Regions from separate parts of the Homo sapiens genome. Here region 1 is linked to region 2. The links are contacts of gene promoters, found by promoter capture Hi-C in blood cells and fetal thymus (Javierre and others, 2016). All regions are on one chromosome and are shown on one strand. The core of a region is centred on a gene start or on the middle of the fragment in contact, and the rest is flanking DNA. Distances in the headings are between cores, read along the strand shown.

The links. The method cuts DNA at HindIII sites, captures the fragments that hold promoters and counts their contacts. A CHiCAGO score of 5 or more calls a contact.
Region 1: a fragment that was not itself captured here is called in contact with the fragment with the promoter of KBTBD6 in region 2 in 1 of 17 cell types (megakaryocytes); the score reaches 5.4 in megakaryocytes.

What each region holds. Positions count from the first base shown.
Region 1 is chr13:41,183,116-41,189,843 of GRCh38, forward strand. The region is part of intron 3 of KBTBD6-DT (KBTBD6 divergent transcript); the gene reads left to right. KBTBD7 (kelch repeat and BTB domain containing 7) reads right to left here. Exons shown (of 1, transcript NM_032138.7): 1 at 6,719-6,728. Among named protein-coding and RNA genes, the nearest start is that of KBTBD7, 8.1 kb to the right of the region's middle. The HindIII fragment of the contact is 1,598 bases long and covers 1,930-3,527 here.
Region 2 is chr13:41,130,701-41,137,419 of GRCh38, forward strand. It overlaps KBTBD6 (kelch repeat and BTB domain containing 6), which reads right to left and starts at 2,102. Exons shown (of 1, transcript NM_152903.5): 1 at 1-2,102. The coding sequence starts at 1,811. It overlaps KBTBD6-DT (KBTBD6 divergent transcript), which reads left to right and starts at 2,228. Exons shown (of 4, transcript NR_120423.1): 1 at 2,228-2,355. RefSeq lists enhancers at 1,755-1,804, 2,165-2,404. The HindIII fragment of the contact is 7,724 bases long and covers 1-4,728 here.

The DNA.
Region 1 (6,728 bases), core at 1,479-3,978, 53 kb after region 2:
CTTGTTTTAGATATATTATTAGTATGTCTTCATCAAAAAGATGTGAAATCCGTTAAAGCCCCACCTCCACAGATCTCATTTTAAACACTAGGGTATGCCTCCCCTTTCTCCAAATCTTCTAGGTTTCCTGACAAGTTGTACAGTTGGCTGATTCTAGTTTTCTGTCATTTCTCCCTTCTTTTTTTTTTTTGGAGATGGAGTCTCACTCTATCGCCCAGGCTGGAGTGCAGTGGCGTGATCTTGGCTCACTGCAACCTCCTCCTCCCCGGTTCAAGCAATTCTCCTGTCTCAGCCTCCCGAGTAGCAAGGACTACAGGCGCACACCACCACACCCGGCTAATTTTTTGTATTTTAGTGGAGATGGGGTTTCATTGTGTTGCCCAGGCTGGTCTCGAACTCCTGACCCCAGGCAATCCACCCACCTTGGCCTCCCAACATTTCTCCCTTCTTTAACATTAACAAACAGAGCTGACATGAGAAAAAGACACAAAGTTCTTAGAACATTGTGAACTGGATACACAGCTATTAAGAGTCCTTGGTATTTCAGATATCTCAAGCATTATTATCAGCATGGTAACTTTAAGGTTGATTCCAGGTATAATTAAATATCTCATGATAGTAAACGCACAAAGGCTTTTGAAAAGTTTAGATTGCATTTTGAAATAAATATGATGTGATATCTTTAAATTTTTACTGTAATACTGTGCAAATTGTTTAGATTTAGAAATGATTTTATTGCTCCTTAAGCATTCATTCAATTCTTATTCAGGGAATACACAGAACATAGGTAGTATTTGGGAAGGTACATCTTATTATTACCTTGATATAATTATATCATAACTGTGAATTTAAATATAAAAATAATTTAATATTTATTAAATTAGCTAAATGCTCTCATTGAGATTATCTGAACTGACATGGTCAAAATAAAATACAAAAAAATATAAATACTAAATAGAATACTAAAATATAAGCATAATATAACACTAAAAATAATACTGTGTTTTAATACTTTAAAACTTATCATCACTGAAGGGTTTGATTGGGTTTTGTTTTCAGTTAAAGCCAATTTTTCACACTCCTTCTCCATTGTTCTAAGATGACTTTTAGTTGGGCCGTCTCTTGATTCAGAGTTCTGAGTAAAGAGTCAGAAATTCCAGACCACGTGCCCTAAGGTGCATCAGGACTAGACTGGAGGACCAAATAAATCTCAAGCAGAGCAATAGTCCAGGTGTGGTGGCTCACACCTGTAATCCCAGCACTTTGGGAGGCCAAGGCAGGCTGATCCCTTGAGCTTAGGAGTTCAAGACCAGCCTGAGCAACATGGTAAAATCCTGTCTCTACAAAAAATACAAAAAAAAAAAAAGAACAATAGTGATTTTACTTTCTGAGTCCTGTTTGAGGTAGTGCTATTCAGCAGGCAAGAGTGTGTACTAGAAAGTGCTTTAAGAGATAGGAAACACAGTTCTAATTCCAGTTTTATGAATAACTAGCAGTACAAGCCTTGGTAAATTATTTAAAGTTCCTTGGGTTTATATAAGAAAACTGGGCTCTACCAGGGAGGTTGAGGCTTCAGTGAGCTGTGATCACACCACTAGACACCAGCCTGGGCAACAGAGTGAGACCCTGTCTCAATTAAAAAATAAAAAAAGAAAATTGGGCTCTAATATTCATGATTCTAACTGACAAAAAATTAAGAATCAACTTATGATGAAGAACAATATACAGAAATTCAGGCCACTAAAGGATTATGTAAAAACATAAATTTATATTATATATATCTTACATTGTTAAGATCTAGAATATGAGCGGTTCTATTTTACAGTAACACTTCCAATATTAAATGTTTTTTCAACTGTGTTCAAGGCTCTTTGATTAGTGTTATGAGGGCTATAAAGATGAAATAAACCTTATCCCCTGATCTCAGGAAGCTTACCAGTTAGTAGGTTCACCCTCTCTTCAAGCACCCTTGCCCATGGGGGTCCCCTTTCAGCAGAAATTCTTGCATTCTAATTCAAAGAAAGAAAACATTAGAGGTATAAGCTACCTGATGTCCAAAGCCATACCCAGAAATTCATCTCCATCTATATCAACCTTTCCCTTCTGCCATAGCTGTAGCTTAATCAGAGGTGGGCCAAAGGCCTGTGATATGGGACACCAAATACATCTACTAATGTCTCCAAATCAAGACTCCCGTGTTCCCAAATCCATTAAACAGCAGCACCATCCATTTAGTCAACTGTGATGGAGATTGCTAATTGTGCCCTCATCCATTCTCCTTCCTTTTAGTAATAGAGCTTTTGGGATATGGGATAAGTGAGAAGGCTAAGCCAGTAAGTTCCCAGAGGAGAAGGCAAGGGGATTGGAAAAAGTTTAGGGATTAAGGGAGAGAACCCTGGGCACCTTGGAGGCTTAATTTCTGCCACTCCTAGGAATACTAGACCTAATAGCAAAAATATGAGGCAAGTTTGTGTCTCTCTGTGTTAAAGGTATGCAGGGGCCCATTTGTTTATTAAAAAATCATTATTCAGCATGATATGAAATTTAACTTTTGGCTGTGAATTTATTGTGGAAGGATAATTGTAGGGATATCTGAAATGACCATGATAACAATAATGCCTGCATGACATTGTGAACCACCTGAATCTGAATACAGAAAACCGAACATGTTTATATTAAAATATATTCATTTATTAACACTATTTATTAATAGAGCTCCGTGAGTTTTAGCAAGGCACATCCATTTAGTGACAATATTTCCCAGTTCATCTTGCAACTGGGCATGGTGATATGATTAAGTTCTCCCCAATAAAAAAAATGGCAAAAGTGATGTAAACGTCCTTTAAAATGAAAAGATTTTTTGCCTTCCATTTCCTCTTTCCCCTTTTTCACAGGCTGAAAACACAGATACAATTCTGGTGAATGTGCTTTGCTCATGAGGACAGACAACTCACTGGGGGTTGGGAGGATAAACGATAAAAGAACCTGGGCCTGTGAACAACCCCATGGGGCAGAACTAGTCTGCAATGCCTGGCTGTTCACTTCTGGACTGAATGTATATACAAAATGGTTTCTACCTTACATTCCAGGGCCTCTTTGATATGGAAGTTTGGCCTGTACTCTAACACAACATCCAAGCAAGAAACGGGAAATCACTTTAGTCATACTCCCTACAGCTCCCTCATCTCCAAACATACAATTTTAGGTCCAGATCAATTTAACTGACTTATCTGTTCCTTCCTCATCAATTCCATAACTACTCCCCCTGTTGAGAACCACATTATGTCACTGTCTGGACTACAACAACACATCCCTTTAAATGTTCTTCTTGCTGCCACAATCTTGCACTGTCAGTACATCCAGAAGGGTCTCAATAAAACAAATCCGATTTTGTCAAATCCCTATTTTAAAATTCTCAATGAATTCACATTGTATGCAAAAAAAATCAAAAAGTCCAAACTCCTTGACGGCATATAAGACCTTCAAGAGCTGATGCCTACCAACTTTTCCAGCTTGTTCTTATGCCAAGCTTCCCCTTCCATCCTAGGATCAGGTTACATCAAAATACATGCTGTACTCTGAACATTCCCACCTTTGCAACTCTGCAGTCTCTGTAGAATCTGCCACAATAGGAACTATAACCTTTATTGAGGTTATTTGCTTACCTATTGGTTTTCCTCAACATTTCCCAACTTTATCTCTTACAAGCGATCAGAGTCCTAGAACCCACAGGGAATTTTCTGCCAGAGAATACATAAAATATTGCCACTTTCCACTGGATTTTTAAAAAAGTTATTACTATCTAAATTACTAATATAAAGAGAGAAGCATACCAATGGGGTTTCTAAGTTGGTACACTGCAGTTCTTGGGACTCCTGGCAGTCATTTTAGCTGTCAGGTGATAAAAATCTAGCCTGACAGATGATGTAGTAGAGATTGCTGTTTGTATCCCAATGTTCTTTCTCAGCGTTCTTCAAGAAGGAACCACTGAATTTTAACTGGATACATGTTGACAGAATAAAGACTACCTTTTCCTTGCAGCTAGGTGTGGCCATGTAGTTAAGATTTGGCCAATGTCATGTGACCAGAAGTGATATGTACAATTTCCCTTACAGAACAGGGTCATGCCCTTCCAACATCCCATCCTGATGGCTGGAATATGGACATGAGGGTGAACCACCTTGGACCATGTGAAACAGGGTAACACCCCAAGGGCAGTAGAACAGGAAGACAACAAGCCTGGGTCTCAGATAACTTTGTAGCTCAGGATCCACATAAAAGATTGGACTGTTATATGAGAAATCCTTTTAAAGATCTATAAGGTCTCTCTTGCATACAACCAACTTATGTGCTAACTAATGTATAAAGTGAGAGAAAACCTCATCCTATGACATATTCTCTGTACTAATAAAGCCTTGAAGACATTGACACTCTGGATCAGGCTGTGCCTTGAGGTGAGAACCATTGCTATTTGCTAGGTTCCCCAAAATTAACGAATAATTTGTCCCTAAAAGAATATTCTTAAAATATGGTGGGTCTGGCTGGGTGCGGTGGCTCACACCTGTAATCCCAGCACTTTGGGAGGCCAAGGTGGATGGATTACGAGGTTAGGAGTTCGAGACCAGCCTGGCTAACACGGTGAAACCCCATCTCTCCATTGGAGAGACTCCCCACAGAGTAGGAGAAAATGTCTCAGATATGGAGGAATAATATGCAACAATATCTGTTCCCTGCCTGCCCTGTGCCTTGGACCATGTTGAATCCACAAGGGTAAAGTGAGAAACAGAAGCTGTTGGCAAAGGTCTAGGTGACAAAATAGCCCAGAGTTAAGAAAAGGGCATAAAACCTATTGCCTATAAGGTACTCCTCTAAAATTTGGCAACTTCTCTGAATGGTACCTTTTTGTTGTTATTTTTCATTTAAAAACTGTCTTGTATCTAATCAACTCTATGGTTCTCAAATAGATTATCAATTAATTCTCTTGGGATTGCTAGTCACCTTTTCTATAATTTTGCCTCCTAATACTTTCTGCTTTATTATATTTGCTGTAACAAATATTCTTTTAAAATTAGTTGTAAAGATGAAACAGTGTTGAAGTTTCAAATAGATATGGGAAGTAGAGATTTGATGAAAGGATATTTACATTCTGGTGATCAGATTTTTGGATTTCAAAGACCAGTCAATTTTCTTTTAGTGTTTAGGGGACTGATATAAGGCTGAAACATTTTTACATTTCCAATTTATGAACAATAAAACAAATAGAATAATTTTTATCTTACAGCTCATTCATTGTGTTTTATAGTTTTTCACTTCAGCACAAATTGGTAAAAATAACATCAGGCAAAGCACTGGTTCCTGGTTTAATGAGCAGGGTTTAAAAAATTGATTATATTTTTTGACTACATTTACTATAGATCCCTTTCAGGTAGATGCACTTTTCCAACCATTTGTTTTCCTATTTATGAAGAGACAATGAACTTTTGCTACTAAGATATATTTCTAGTAATGAGCCATGGTGCCAGTAGTTTGAAACATCTGAACCACGTATTTTGCTTTAAATCCTAATATATACATAGCCTTCTTGGACAATAATCGTTATCACTTACATTTGTATAACACGTAAGTTTCAAAGCTTTCATATACACTAGTGCACTTTATCCTTTGAATAGTTTACATTTCGTTACTCATTCTTGCATTACTCATCATGAGGAAATTAGAATTTCAGAAATGTCAACTTTGCCTTCATTCTGAGGTACTAATTTTTCACATTTCTTTCTGATGGTGAATGTATATTATTTCTTTTTTTATTTGTGTTTTTTTTGTTTTTTTTTTTGGAGATGGAGTCTCGCTCTGTCGCCAGGCTGGAGTGCAGTGGCACGATCTCGGCTCACTGCAACCTCTGCCTCCCGGGTTCAAGCGATTCTCCTGCCTTAGCCTCCCGAGTAGCTGGGACTATGGGCGCACGCCACCATGCCCTGCTAATTTTTGTATTTTTAGTAGAGACGGGGTTTCACCATGTTGGCCAGGATGGTCTTGATCTCTTGACCTCGTGATCTGCCCACCTTGGCCTCCCAAAGTGCTGGGATTACAGGCGTGAGCCACCACGCCTGGACGTATATTATTTCTTTCGCCCTATTTTGGGAATTACTCTTTCACCCTACAAACATTTGAGCTATGTGTCTTGTGAAAAATGCAAATTTCTTTTTGTAGATATGTTCTTGAGACCTTGTCACAAGAGTTTTTACCCTGGGTGTGTGGATGAACTTCAGAAATGTCATTATACCCTTAAAATTATGAAATTATGAACATATGAATTTTCCTGAAGAATGGGTCAAAAGTTTTCATCATATTCTCTATTAAGATCCAGGCACCAAAACAGAACAACACTGCTCAACTAGAGGAGATATGAGGGGCTATTATAACTTAATCCTAAAACTAAATTTAAACAAGTTATTTGCTAAATTAGTCTTCTATTTTACCTTTTTGAAAACACCAGTATTACTTACTGTTGAATTTAAAAACATGAAATAAAACTAAATCTTACCAATGGCAGTCCTACAAATGACATTATAGAAAGCATTTGCTAAACGATGTGCTGATTAATTGGAAAACTTAGAAAAGGGTTCTTGTCATGAAGATATTTCAACACTGCTAGTTCACTGCACAGCAAGAATTTTGTACATTTAGCAGAACCATTGAATTAGAAAGTCAGGAAACCTGGGTTCTAG
Region 2 (6,719 bases), core at 852-3,351:
AGGCCTAATGTGGTACCTATATTAATCCATTGGTCTCCCCTAATATCATATTCATACACAGTCACCCGGTTCTTTTTCCACTGTGGGGTGCGAGAGGTGATGAGCAACAATTTTTGGCCATGCTTGATAATTCTGTAGTTGTTGGTCTCTGAGACCAAGGGAATATTATTCATTTGCCTCCATTCTGCCCTAACTGGGTTGTAGACCTTCATGACTGGGATATCACAGATACAATAGATCTCCTCATTGAAGACGCAGGCTTCCTGAAAGTCATTGCGCTTCAGAGAAACGCACTTCAGCCACATATTGTGGCTAGGATCATAACAGAACATGCGCTTACTGTTGAGAGCATAGAGATAGTCTCGAATTACCATTAGGTCAAAGGATAAAAAAGAATGGGGCAGTGGAGCCACCAATGCCCACTGGTTTCTCTTAACATTGTAGCATTCCACTTCCTTCAACTTAACTCCAGTAATAGGGTCTCGCCCCCCCAAAATGTAGATATAGCCATTGAGATATGCCACATCCATGCCCTCACGACACAGCAAGCGATCTGCAAGTTGCTGCCAACTATTCTGAGCTGGTTTATACACCCAGAGGTCTGTCCTGGGCTGAGCAGCTAGATAGATGTCATGGTCAGGAGAGATACAGACAGCTAAAGTGGTGACAGTCCTAGTGTGAGCCAGACAGGTCAAAGGTGACGGCACTTTGTAAAGGTCCCCCGAGTATGGATCACAGCAGAGAAAGGGATCTCTGGGGTGTCCAAAGAAGATCACCATCTCCTTGGCACACATACCCAGTCTCTGGGGTGGATTTTCTGCTGCAGATACAAGAGAGTTGCTGCTGCTACTGCTGCTGCTGCTGTTTGGCACTGGCACCAGAGACTTGTACAACAGGTCACCATAGCGCATCTGCAGGGCCCCTTCAATAACGTCCAGGCAGTACTTCTTCACGATGGGCTTGGTCAGCAGCCCTTCTAAGTAGTCCTGATCTTCTTCAGTGAAGTGCATCCAGCGCACGCACTTGAAGACTTCTGCAGCACTGGGACCCCGCTCTTTGGGAGCAGCCTCCAGCCACTGCACTGCCACATGGCACACTGTCTGCTCACTCTCCACGTCCAGACTATCCAAGCGCAGGACAGCCAGCAGCTGGGCCAGGGTCAGATCTGCTAGAGTCTCCTCCCGAATTGAACCCATGTGGCTGAGTTGCTTGAAGTTCTGAGCTATATAGGACTGGGCCTGGGATCGCAGCTTGCGATGGCCAAAGGCATCTGCAAACTTGAGGATGGCGGTGCAGTTGGTCAGGTCAAGACGTCGGGCTAAGAAGGAGGCACAGGCTTCCCGCACATATTCCAGCTGTAGCATGTCGGAGGCCGCGTACAGGCGCTCCACGTTGGCCTCACTGAGAGACACACGACCCGTGTAGCAGTAGTCGACCAACACCTCGAAGGACTCGGCGTCCACATCGTGCATGGTCACGCTGGCCTGCTGGCTCTCGTACATGCCACCTGTGAACATGCTCTTGAAGTAGGGACATGCCGCGGCCAGCACATTGCGGTTGCAGGGGAACAGGCGACCCGTGCCAGGCCCGCTGCCAGGCGTCACCACCTCGATGGTCACATCACACAGCAGCCGCGCATCGTAGAAGGACTTGAGCTGTGCCAGCAGGGCTGCAGAATGGGCCGTGTCCTTTAATTCCTCTGGACCCGTGAAAAAGGCCGAAACTGTGGGTTTGTGAATCTTCTTGGGCCGCTTCCCACCACGGGGACTGGCTAGGCGGCGAGAGCGCGGGGCGTCTTCCCGGGACTGCATGGTGGAGATGGCGACGGGCGCTGATGGCGAGAAACGCTGCAGGACCCGGCTCTGGCTCCTCCTCAACCTTCCCTCGCTGACGCTAAGATAGCAGCGTCTCCGAAGAGACAGCAGCACGAGCCCATTTACTGAATTCAACCCTACCCCGCAGAACCGCCTCCCGTTATCGTTTAGACAGTGGCTGACTCACCCTCTCTCACTCCCGCGTCCTTTCTCCGCGTCTGCTCGCCTTCACAGGACCCGCTGGCTTGGAGCCGCAGAAGCCGCTACTGCAGCGTGGGCGACAATGCTAGGCGCCCAGGAGAACTACCGCTCCCAGGTTGCCTTTCGCGCCCCGAGGGCTGCTGGGACTCTCGGACTCCCGGGCCGAGACCGAGGGAAAGAATCCGCTTTGCATGTCGGGAGTAGTAGTTTGTGTAATATCGCGATCCTTCTCTGGTGTTCCTTGTTTTAGCTGACGACACTCGAGAGCGCCAATTTTCCTAGATTCGATTTTGTGGTTTGGAACTGTGGTTTTGGAATCCAGAGTAGTCGCCTCGTTCTAGTATGTATTGTTTGACTTGTCTCTTTGAACTGTTTCTTCTTTTGTAAGACGTGAACAGTAGTATTTCATAGGATTGTGTGAAGATTACATGAGTTGGTTATAGGACGCTGTTAATAAATATTTGTTGGTTTGTAGAATAATTACTCAGTTCTTAGAATTATAAAGGTTCGATAAGTTTTCTTCCAGCCTTTATTAAAAAAAAAAAAAGGAAGCACCACTAATTTGAAATTATGAGCCTGTAGGAAAACAAAAAACCCCCCAAAACAGAAAACCTTGCAAGTTCCAGCAGAGATCCCTTTTTAGGGGCGTGTGTGTGTGTGTGTGTAAATTAGATTTTATTTTTAGGTTTACGGAAAAATTGAGCAGCAGGGACAGGGAACTTCCATATATCTCTCCCCACTTCACAGTTCCCTTATTATTAACATCTTGTATTAGTGTATGTATCCATTAGAAGTGATTTTTTTTTTTTTTTTTTTTTTACTCACTATGCCTCTCCCTGGTACCAAAAGATAACTCAGGGTTTGTAGGATTGGTTGGCTATCGCTGGAATTAGATCCCTGGCTTTTTCACAATTGCCTGTCCTTATTTGCCATGACTAAAAGGAGACCACCTCCAGTCACCTGACTTTGAGACTTTCCTTCCATATCTGCATTTCAAAACCTGAAGTCCTCTGTAGCCACTTCTCCCACTTGGTCTCTCCAATATTCAGTACCCCTTTCCCTTTTTTACACAAAAGAAGAGACATGCTTTAGGGGGTCCTCACCCCAAAACACAATGGAAGCCAGAGGCCTGGTTGGTAATTTAGCATCCTTTTAGACCCAGTGGCTCAAGCATTTCTCCCCTTGCTTGTATGAAGTTGCCTCTCCATCAGAGCTGACTTTATTTCTAGTCATTCACTCAACCTTTACTTACCCCGTGCAGTTCAGACATTAGAAGTCACTGAGAACACCTAACACGTTTCCGCTTCGGACTCACCTCCTGTGAAACCCTGCCACTGTCTTCCTCTCTCATCACTGTCCACCGTAGTCAAAACAATCAAGCCACTCTTCTTCCCATTCCCTCTGAAGGACAACCTTGTGACTGAATCACCGTCACACAGTCATTCACATTTCCTCACTCTGACATCACCAGAACTCCTCTCAGAGACCTTGATATCACCTTTGTAGATGGTTCTTACCTCAGGAGTACAAATGGGGAATTTTAAGCAGGATACACTATTGCAGATTTTCAACAGCCTATTAAGTTGAAATCTCCACTTAAGTTAACATGGCCCAAATCATTGAATTCTTAAGCACTCACCCAAACTTGCATGTTAGCACAAGATAAGGGAACTAACATTTATAGAGACAGCCAGTTTACTTTTGGAATTGCACGTTATTTTGGTATGCTATGGAAAGAAAGAGGTTTATGACAACTGAGGAGTACCACTCAGAACCCAACTCACTAACTTATTTAAGTCTTTTTTTTTTTTTTTTGAGATGGAGTCTCGCTCTTGTCACCCAGGCTGGAGTTGCAGTGGCGCGGTCTTGGCTCACTGCAACCTCCGCCTCCCGGGTTCAAGCGATTCTCCTGCCTCAGCCTCCTGAGTAGCTAGGATTACAGACACCCACCACCATGACCGGCTAATTTTTTTTTTTTTTTTTTTACTTTTAGTTGAGATGGGGTTTCGCCACGTTGGCCAGGCTGGTCTCAAAATCCTGACCTCAGGTAATCCACCCGCCTCGGCCTCCCAAAGTGCTGGGATTACAAGCGTGAGCCACCGCGCCCAGCCCCCCTGTTTAAGTCCTTACAGCTATCCAGAAATTAGCCATTCTCAAAAATCAAAGCTCACACTAGTGGCTGGACTAACAAAGCTAAAGGAAACTTAACTGGCTGAAAATATGCTAAGGTTGCTGCTTCCCAAGAAAACACCTCCTGAATCACGTGTATACTTCTCCTTGCTCAACCTACTCTAAAGACAGAAACTCTTAAGAAACTTAAGATATAACAGCTGCTAGCACCTGAGGCTGAAAAAGCAAAAAAGCAACAAGCTGGATGTTTTTTCTACTCAGATGGGCTTTGGAGACACCTAGACATCATTGATTTCTCTTGGTCCCTCACCCAAAATTTATTCTGCAGCCTCCATGAGATTACACATTATGGCAAAGAAAATCTTTCTCCGCAAATATTGTTGGGGATGCCCTAATACTGAGCAGTTAACTTCAACTTGCCCCATCTGCCAGAAACACAATCCTAGTCAACATGTAAAGTGGGACAAGCATGAGAGTCAACTCTCTCTAGTCCTTGTTTTCATTGGAAAATATATCAACTCTCAAAGTCTTATGGGTACAAATATGTTTTAACCATAGTTGGCATGTTTTCAGCATGGTTAAAAGCTTTTCTCTGTAAACAAGCTACTATCACCACTGAAGTTAACCTGATACCAGAAAGAATTTTCCCCTCCTAGGGATCTCTGTTTTTTTTAATAACAGTGGAGGAACTCACTTCAGTAGTAAGGTTATTCAGGATCTTCAACAAGTACTTCCAATGTTACAAAAACTGCAGTCTCCTTACCAGTCCTCTGGAAAATGAAACAAGCAGGCCAGTGGTACCGTTATATTCAAACTAGCCAAACTCTTTAAGGAACTCAACCTGCCCAGAGTCTCATGCCTAATGGCCCTTGACTCTTCTATTATCCCCAATTTCTCAGCATGTACTAAATGAAACTTAATTCTTAACATGATTAATGAGTCTCTTGAAATCTCCAAACTCAATGACTCCACTTTTTCAGGATCAAGTGTAGGAAAAAATGTAGGAGCACTTTTATCCCTAATAATAACCATTTTCTCTTCCACCACTTCCCAACCAGCCTTACAAACTGCGTTCAGTTCCACACAAAGACTCTGCTCTTCTGAGGGATCTACCCAGTTGTTAATCCCAGTAATTGTTAATAATTACTATACCTCAGACCCCACCTGTTTCCCCATAGGATACCACTTTTCATGCCTTCCCCAAGGGCATTTGGACTGATTGTCTGGGACTTCAAAATATTTAAAGCTGCTATCCCACCTGTCAATGGTGTGTCCTTCTGGAATTACCTCCAAATTGAGGCAACTACAGGGAATTGGGGAAAACCTCCCAGGGATATCAATGATTCTCTTTTCATATGCACCATGAGGGCCCTTGACACCCACTATGGCATTAATACAGTTAAAAAGGATAGTTCAAAAAAAAAAGAAAAGGTAGTTCAAGCCTCTCCTTAACCTTTGTAGAAGAAAATTATACCACTTTGGCCCTAGAAGTACAGAAAATAAGTTTAAACGCACAGGTCCAAATTGTTATGGCCAATCCTACAACTTTCAACTTCCTTCTAGCTAGACAAGGAGATATCTGTGCCATAGCCAAAATCTCTTTTTGCACTTGAATAAACACAACAGGACAAGTGAATGCTTAGTTACTAAACTCAAGGAAAAGGCTAGTTGGCTTTCTAAGGTAAATTCAAATAGCCTGAGGCATGTTCCCCTGGGCAAGATTTAGAAATAGAAGACCCGGTTTTGAGCTGTATTACAAACATTACTAATTGACATAGTTTGGATATTTGTCCTCGCTCAAATCTCATGTTGAAGTGTGATCCCCAGTGTTGGAGGTGGGGCCTGGTGGGAGGTGTTTGGATCACGGGGGCGGATCCCTCATGAATGACTTGTGCTGTCTGTCCACTTGGTGATAAGTGAGCTCCCGCTTTGAGTTCCCGCAAGATCTGATCGTTTAAAAATATGTGGTACCTCCTCCACCCATTCTCTCTCTCTCTCTCTCTCTCTCTTCTTCCCTCTCTTGCTTCCGCTTTCACCATGTGACATGCCTGCTTCCTCTTCACCTTCCACCATGATTGTAAGCTTCCTGAGGCTTCCCTAGAAACTGAGCAGGTACCAGTACCATGCTTCCTGTAAAGCCTGCAGAACCGTGAGCCAATTAAACCTCTTTTCTTTATAAATTACCCAGTCTCGGGTATTTCTTTATAGCAATGAAAGAATGGCCTAATACACTAATTATTTTCCTGTTTGTAGTCTTATACCTTGCAGTTGGGCAGTACATCATGCCTAGTCTTAAATACTACTACACAGCTATTTGTCTTCACAAATTATTATTCAACAATGTATCATGATCTGGTAGACCAAAGGGTGACTCTGCTTCCAACTGACTTCCCAGACAGAATTTCAATCTGAACTGACAATTTTACCCGTGGAGATCAAGATCATGGAATTAAGAAATTCCACAAAGTTTTGTTTTCCTAAATCTCCCAACTCTTTTGTGCTCTGGGAAATGGCTTACACAGTGAACCATCCTTCCTGTATGACGTAGATGACTTTCTGTCTACTTTTTCTCAT